2 separate regions of the Homo sapiens genome follow, and region 2 is linked to region 1. Evidence: promoter capture Hi-C in 16 types of primary human blood cells and fetal thymus (Javierre and others, 2016). All regions are on one chromosome and are shown on one strand. The core of a region is centred on a gene start or on the middle of the fragment in contact, and the rest is flanking DNA. Distances in the headings are between cores, read along the strand shown.

Region 1 (3,746 bases), core at 783-3,282:
TGAAGAGCACTGGGAAGGGTACAAAAGGGACCTCAATTCTACCTACAATCTATCTTTACGACAACTAACAGATGATGGATGTGCACCCTATCCCCCACATGCTAAATCAAATAGGTGTCTATGGCTACAACCAATTAAAGTTTATGTGCGGGGAAAGAAAAGAAAGTGGGTCACTCCTCCACTATTGAAACAAGCTATGTAAAGCGTTTTCTCATTAGAAGGCAGGTATGACACAAATAGTAATTATACTTATATAGTGTTTATTGTGTACCAAGCAATCCTCTAAAGACTTTATATTTAACCTTTGACTAAATACTCCCAGGAAGTTTTACTTATATTTAACAGATCACAACACTGAAACATGGTAAGGTCATATCACTCTAACTAGTAAGGTGTAGAGCCTGACCCCAAACCTCAGCAGTCCAACTCCAGAGTCCTCACCTTTAACTATTCACTATATAAACCTTTGCTATTATAAGGATGCTTGTACCAAAGGCTAACACAAGAAAATGTATAAACCTGGGCCTCATACTAAAGCTCATTTACCAGGACTGTCAATTTAATGTAAGGATTTGGAGAAATGTAAAAAACAAACTTTTACAATAATACTGATTTTGCTCCTGTAGCTGTTTCAGATTCTAAACCTCCTCCACTCTCCTTTTTGGAATGAAATCTGATAAGCAATAATGTATGCGTGAACGTGCTCTTTAATGTCAAGGATAATACACATTTGAAAAACAAAACATTAAATCCAACTGCAAAAATCTTACCCTTTTACTTCTGGACAGCCTGAACCGTGTCACAGTGCCAAACTGGGAGAAATATGAAAAGATCTGGGTTTCGTCAAGTAGGTTAGGTAGGTGGCGCACATAGACTACTCCAGGAGTAAGTTGTTCTTGTTTTTTTCGCTAAAGACGTAAAGACCAGGTAAATTAAATATATAAATAAGAAAATCACATTGTAACAAAACCCCTAGCCCTCGGCCCAAGAACCTATTCTGCATTTCCACTTACCACAGTAGTAATTAAAGAACTGGCTGTTTAGTGTTTCTCTCCCCACAAAGGCCATGGTCAAGCAGTAGTCAACTATCTTTCCAGCCTGGCATCCCAGCACCCAGTATAATATTAGAGCTCAATAACTATGTCAATCAACGGATAAGCAAGGACATCTTTGAACAAGCCATTTTAGATCTTCTGCCCAGAGAACTCTACATAAACGTAGGCTTCAATTTGGTATGCATATTACTGTTTACTCGCACTTCATCGAAAAATTTTCGATACGCTTGTTAACTCTCACGGTACAGATTAGCCTTTCAACGTCTCAGTCATCATAGCCTTACCTCTGTAACAGGAACTTCTAAGTTTTCCTGTGTATTTTATGCTAAAAACCACAGAAAGTATAAGCGATGTCAGGGGCCCTAGTCAGCAAGTGGAACCTGGCAAATACTCTATTTTAATAACTCCCAGATCACCAACCCGGCATACAAACTTCCCGAATGTGTTAAGTCTGGGGCTCCCATTTTTGGGGGAAACGCGGAAGCGTGACAGCTCTAACCCGGAGATAACCTGTGGTATAGGAGCCTATTCCCTCCAGCTGGTTCTTTCTACTGCTTCTGTCACCCCAATACTTCCCCGTTACCCTCCACATGAAGGCTCCAGGGCCTCAGCGGCCAAACCCCTCCATCATTTACCGAACAGCGTAAACCCTTTCGTCTCGGAAACCGTGGCCTGCAAGCTTAAGAGGTCGGTCCCTGATTCGGTCGAATCCACTTGGGAGACCCTGGAGGTAATGAAGGCGAGCACGAAGGCAAGGGGCGCCCGGGCCGGAAACCGTGCAACCCCAGATACCCTCTAGACCCGGTCCATCGCCCCCGCTCGCAGCCTGGGCCAGGGTGCCTGCTCACCTGGGTTATGCGCTTGCGAACCTGCGCCACCTCCTTTTGAAACTCGACATCTTCCTGCGGATTAAGCGACAGGATTGGCCCAGCCGGGCCAGAAAAAGTCGCCATGCCAAAAGCCGCCGACGCTAACCACGCGGCGCTCCCGGAAACGTCGGGCTCCCAGCTCCCCCGAGGCGGAAGTAGAGGCAGGACAGGGGCGGGGCGAAGCGCTAAGGCGAGGCGAGGCGTGGCGAGGGGCGGGGAGGGCCATGAGTCGGGCGCGGGGTTGGAGCAGGAGTTGCCCGGAGAAGCGGGGGCGGGGCACGGGGTGTGGCGAGGCGCGGGGCGGGGCATAAATTGCGCCAGGGGCGAGGGCGGGGCACGAGGTCGTGCCGAGAGACTGGGAGAGGCGTGAGTCGCGCGGAGGCGCGACATGGGGCGTGACGAGGAGCGGAGGGCGGGGCGTGAGTAGCGCCGAGGCGCGGAGGCGGGGCGCAGGGGCGTGCCGAGGCGCGGCAGCGGGGTCTGGGGCTGGGGCTGGGCCGTGGGGAGCTCCCGCACCCTCGGCTGTCGGGGCGCCGGCTGGCTTCGCTTAAGAGTGCCTGAAACAATTACGTTCACGCCTACTTTCAAAAAAGGTCTAAAATAAATTCCAAAACAGTACCTGTGTCCTTGAGATGCTGCTCTCATTCCTCAATTTGCTTATTATTATTATTATTTTTTTTTGAGACAGAGTTTCGCTTTGGTTGCCCAGGCTGGAGTGCAATGGCGCAATCTCGGCTCACTGCAACTTCCAACTTCCGCCTCCCGGGTTCAAGCGATTCTCCTGCCTCAGTCTTCCGAGTAGCTGATTACAGGCGCCCGCCACCACTCCCAGCTTAATTTGTACGTTACCACTCCCAGCTTAATTTGTATGTTTAGTAGAAACGGGGTTTCACCATGTTGGCCAGGCTGGTCTCGAACTCCTGACCTCAGGTGATCCACCCGCCTCAGCCTCCCAAAGTACTGGGATAACAGGCGTGAGCCACCGCGCCCGGCCCTAATTTGGTTATTCTTTCACTCACTTGTGTGTGAGCTCTCCTGTGTGGCCCCGTCCGTCCGCGGCCCTTGGAGAACTTACAGCCTGAGGGCAGCATGGCTGCTTTAAGAGACCAAAGAGGCTTGTGGGGGAGAGGCACACTGGGTGGCGCCGGAGGGTCCCCCTTAGGAGGTGGCGTTAGCACCGAGGCCTGAAGGCTAAAGAGCGGGGTGTGGAGAACCGAGCGCCTGCCGTCCGCTGGACCGGACAGGCCTGCACAGTGTTCCTAGGTCTAGAAAGAAGGACGCGGCAGTGGGGTTGGAGCCCAGCACAGGAGGGAAGAGCTGCGAGGCGGCAGGCTGGAGCCCCATGACTGTGTGTCAAAGTATGAAACTGGGGTTTTGTAAATGCGAGGGGATGGGCGGGTTTAAAGCGAGGCTGTGGCTGTTTGCATCTTTCTTTTCTTTTTTTTTTTTTGAGACGGAGTCTCGTTCTGTCGTCCAGGCTGGAGTGCAGTGGCGCGATTTTGGCTCACTCACTGCAACCTCCGCCTCCTGGGTTCAAGCAATTCTCCTTCCTCAGCCTCCCGACTAGCTGGGACTACAGGTGCACACCACTACTCCCGGCTAATTTTTGTATTTTTAGTAGAAACGAGGTTTCGCCATTTTGGCCAGGCTGGTCGAGAACCCCTGACCTTAAGTGATCTACCCGCCTCGGCCTCCCAAAGTGCTGGGATTACAGGCGTGAGCCACCGCACCCGGCCTGTTTGTACCTTTCAAATACTATTATACTAGTGAGTAACTGAGTGGAGAGGAAGGGTGGGGAGTGGATTGCCGAGGAAGCAGGGAG
Region 2 (3,746 bases), core at 923-3,422, 2.1 Mb before region 1:
GAATCTCCTGGAAGCCTTTCTGGCCCCCTGTCCTGCGCACGAGGACCCCCCAGCAGCTCAGCTTACTGCACCTCAGCATGAAGCGGCCTGAGATGATGGCTCTGTGACCTTGGGTTAGGAGAGTATGTCTGTAACCCCAGGAAGAATAAAAGAATCTATTCAAATTTTCCATTGATACATTTATGCTGGTTAGTTTATCTGTAATAAGGAGTTCTGTAATCATTCCACCATTTCATATGTACTTCAGTTTTAAGATGTTTGAAACAGTTAAGAGAATCTGGCCTGGCACGGTGGCTCACACCTGTAATCCCAGCACTTTGGGAGGCTGAGGCAGGTGGATCACTTGAGCCCAGGAGTCCGAGACCAGCCTGAGCAACATGGTGAAACCCCGTCTCTACCAAAAAAACAGAACAAAACAAAACAGAACAATTTAGCTGGGTATGGTAGCAGGTGTCTGTAGTCAGGAGGCTGAAGTGGAGGATCCCTGGAGCCTAGGAGGTCAAGGCTGTAGTGAGCTGTCTTAGTGCCAACTGCACTCTAGCCTAGGTGACAAAGCAAGACCCTGCCTCAAAAAAAAAAAAAAAGAGAGAGAGAGAGAGAATCTTAACTGTTACATTTCTGTGTCTATTTTTTTTTTTTTTTTTGGATTTTTGAGAGTTGCTTTAAGGCTTAGGAAGATTTTACTTATTAAATTTGAAACACTACTTTCTGTGGGAGACTTGATGGCTAGTTTTATGTGTCAACTTGACTGGGCCAAGAGACACCCAAATATTTGGTTAAACATTCTGAGCATGACTGTGAGGGTGTTTTGGATGAGGTTAACATTTGAATTGGTGGACTGTGCAAAGCAGGTTGCCTTCCCCAGTGTAGGTGCACCTCCTCCAGTCCATTGAAGGCCAGAATAGAACCAAAGGCACAGTGAGAAGGAATTCTCCTGCTCTGCCTGACTGTCTTAGAACTGGGACATCAGTCTTCTCCTGCCTTCTGACTCAGCCTCAGCCTTGGCTCTCCTGCCTTTTTAGCACTTTGGACTCAGACTGGAACTACACCATCAGCCCTCTTGGGTTTCCAGCTTGCCAGCTGCAAATCTTGAGTCTTCTCAGTGTCCATAATTGCATGAGCCAATTCCTTATAATGTCTCTTTAAATAAACATTTGCACGCACACACACACACTCACACACACACACCCGTGTGCATGCACACATATTCTACTGGTTCTGTTTCTCTGGAGAACCCTGACTAATACAGCAGGTTAACATATTTAAGAGAATCAGCTAAATTAAATTTGAAAGTGTGGTTTGAAATGTCTAAGGAAATTTGATCAATTAAGTACAGAAGTGGTACAGTATAATTAAGAAAGATTTAATCTGTAAACCCTAGGAATTAACTGAATGTTAATCAAAGACAAGTAGAAAAAAATCTCATTTTTTATACAAAAATTACTGGACTTATTAATAAGATGACAATATTTGTAAATTGGCACTTTAGGTTTAAGAGACATAGGGTATTCAAACTTACTGCTTTAATACAGTACTGAAAATGTTAGTAACTCTTAAGTATTCCTTTTATGTCCAAAAGCCCCCCAAGAAATTTTTTAAACCCATCTTATGCTGTGTCAACCATGGTTTCCTGGGGGCTTATCCATGTATTCATTTCCTGTTTATCCCCTAATCTAGCCCCGGTCACTCACCCTTGCAGGCCTCCCAGGGCCGTTTCACTGTGACTTTGGCAGGCTTGGTCCATCATCAGTAAACCCCCGCCCCACCTCCTCTCGTTTGCTTGCTCTCCGCAAAGCTTGGCTGTCTTTGCTGAGGACACCACAGCCCTCTCCAGTGAAGTCACTTTCTTCCCCATATTCCCCTGAAATCAGGGCAGAATGCATGTTCCCTTTTCTCCCCACAGCCATTTCCTCCTATACATACCCCAGCTCCTTTGAAACGCATGCCACCAGACCATTCCAGTACCCCCCATCCTTGCTGCTATCTACCAGCTTCCTGGTTGCTTCCTCTCATTCTTGAATTGTTTCAGTGCTGTGGTGTGATCCCTGATCTTTACCACTCCCCCTTTCCCCAGTGGCCAATGCCACTGAAAGAATAGTTTATTACTTGCAGTTCCTGAGAGGAGGGAGGCACACCATGCCACACAGAGCCACCCACCTGGGGAAACACCAGGTCAGTCAGGAGGGAGGCAGAAGGAGCCAGGGGAAGGCATGGCCCAGAGGCTTCATTGTGGTTTTTTGAAGGAATAGGCAAGGCAGGGTAGTCACACTGAAGCAAGCGTAGGATTGGGTAGTTAAGATGCTTTCAGTGGGCTGTGGAGGATAGGGGTATTCTCCAGTTGTCCAGTACCTAATCCTGGGGATATTTAGAGCCAGGAGAATACTGACTTGGAGTGTGAAAAGTAAATAAAAGAGGTGGTTGGGGTATGGGCTGTGGATTGGTTGGTTTGCATATGAAAGGCGTGCTCATGGGAGAGTCATTCGCCATCACTAGGAACCAGTGCCCTGGGAGGGGCAGTCTTTCCAGGATTAGTAAGGCCTCCCAGATGTCAAAGCTTCATAAAATATAGAAAATAAAAATGATTAATATACCCCCTAACTTTTAATCATCTTCTCTTCCACCTCACCGCAGCTCCCGCAGACATGCCCTTGACCTTGTCATCACCAAATGGATACCACCTCTGAAAGGTCCATTTCAAGACTCCCACCCACCCTGTACTCACCTCCTTATACTTCTACCTGGCTTACTATGGTGACCCCATTAGAACATTCCTTATGTTCCACCAGGCCAATGATCTCGCTATCTCTTCCTTCTGCAAAGTGTCTAGGAACAAAGTGCTTAGGAGCAGCACAGGGCACATGGTGTGTAACATTTAGGTGTTAAGTAAAATAGACACCCCACAGGCCCTCACTGTCCTCCCTGCTGGCTGAGAGTTCATGGTCCATCACTATGTCATCACTTCTTTGCAAACACCCTCACCAACCTTGCCCCTTTCTCTCCACTTTGTACTTGACTGGCAAACCCAGCTCTAATTAAACCCAACTATCCATCTATTTATTCTTGTACCTGAGCATCCCAACATTGTTGGAAAGAATCACACAACCATACTAACTTGTCTCACCAACGTTGTGGTTTTGTCCCAGATCCCAAATGGGCACTCAACGGTACACAACAATCATTTCATTTTCCTGGTAGAAAGGTCTTTCTTTTCCTCACCTAGAAATGTACATCTCTTCTGCTTTCTTCAAACCTTCACCACTCCCTCCCTACTCTGTCCCCACTGCACTTTCACCTGATGACCTCACTCCATAGATCACTGGGAAAAAGAAGCAGCATCCAATAAGGACAACCTCTCTTCCCAGCACGACTTCACCAGCCTGGGCCCATTGACCATAGCTTCCCTCCCGTTACAGTGAGGAAGTGCTCCTGACCCCCCTCCTCCTCCCTACCCCGGACCCATCCCCTCTTACCTACCCATGGAGAACCTTCCTGCAGTGGTCCCTCTCTCTGGCAACAAACAAAACAAACGAAGCCCTCCTTGCACCCCATGTGCACCTTGAACCATCACCCCATCTTTACTCCTCTTCACAGCCAGAAGAGTGGTCCATATTCCTCACTGCCCATTCTCTCTTCAACCATTCGAACATTCCTGCTCACCTCACAGATCAGCTCTCATCTAGGTCACCAGTGACCTGCCATTGCCATTAGAATAACATGCAAGGACCTCACTCCAGCTTACAAGACTG

The links. The method cuts DNA at HindIII sites, captures the fragments that hold promoters and counts their contacts. A CHiCAGO score of 5 or more calls a contact.
Region 2: a fragment that was not itself captured here is called in contact with the fragment with the promoter of NIFK in region 1 in 1 of 17 cell types (naive CD8 T cells); the score reaches 5.5 in naive CD8 T cells.

What each region holds. Positions count from the first base shown.
Region 1 is chr2:121,734,843-121,738,588 of GRCh38, forward strand. It overlaps NIFK (nucleolar protein interacting with the FHA domain of MKI67), which reads right to left and starts at 2,033. Exons shown (of 7, transcript NM_032390.5): 1 at 1,904-2,033; 2 at 771-908. The coding sequence starts at 2,008. RefSeq lists an enhancer at 1,920-1,969 and a silencer at 2,070-2,519. The HindIII fragment of the contact is 3,379 bases long and covers 1,733-3,746 here.
Region 2 is chr2:119,670,209-119,673,954 of GRCh38, forward strand. No RefSeq gene overlaps it. Among named protein-coding and RNA genes, the nearest start is that of TMEM177, 7.1 kb to the right of the region's middle. The HindIII fragment of the contact is 759 bases long and covers 1,794-2,552 here.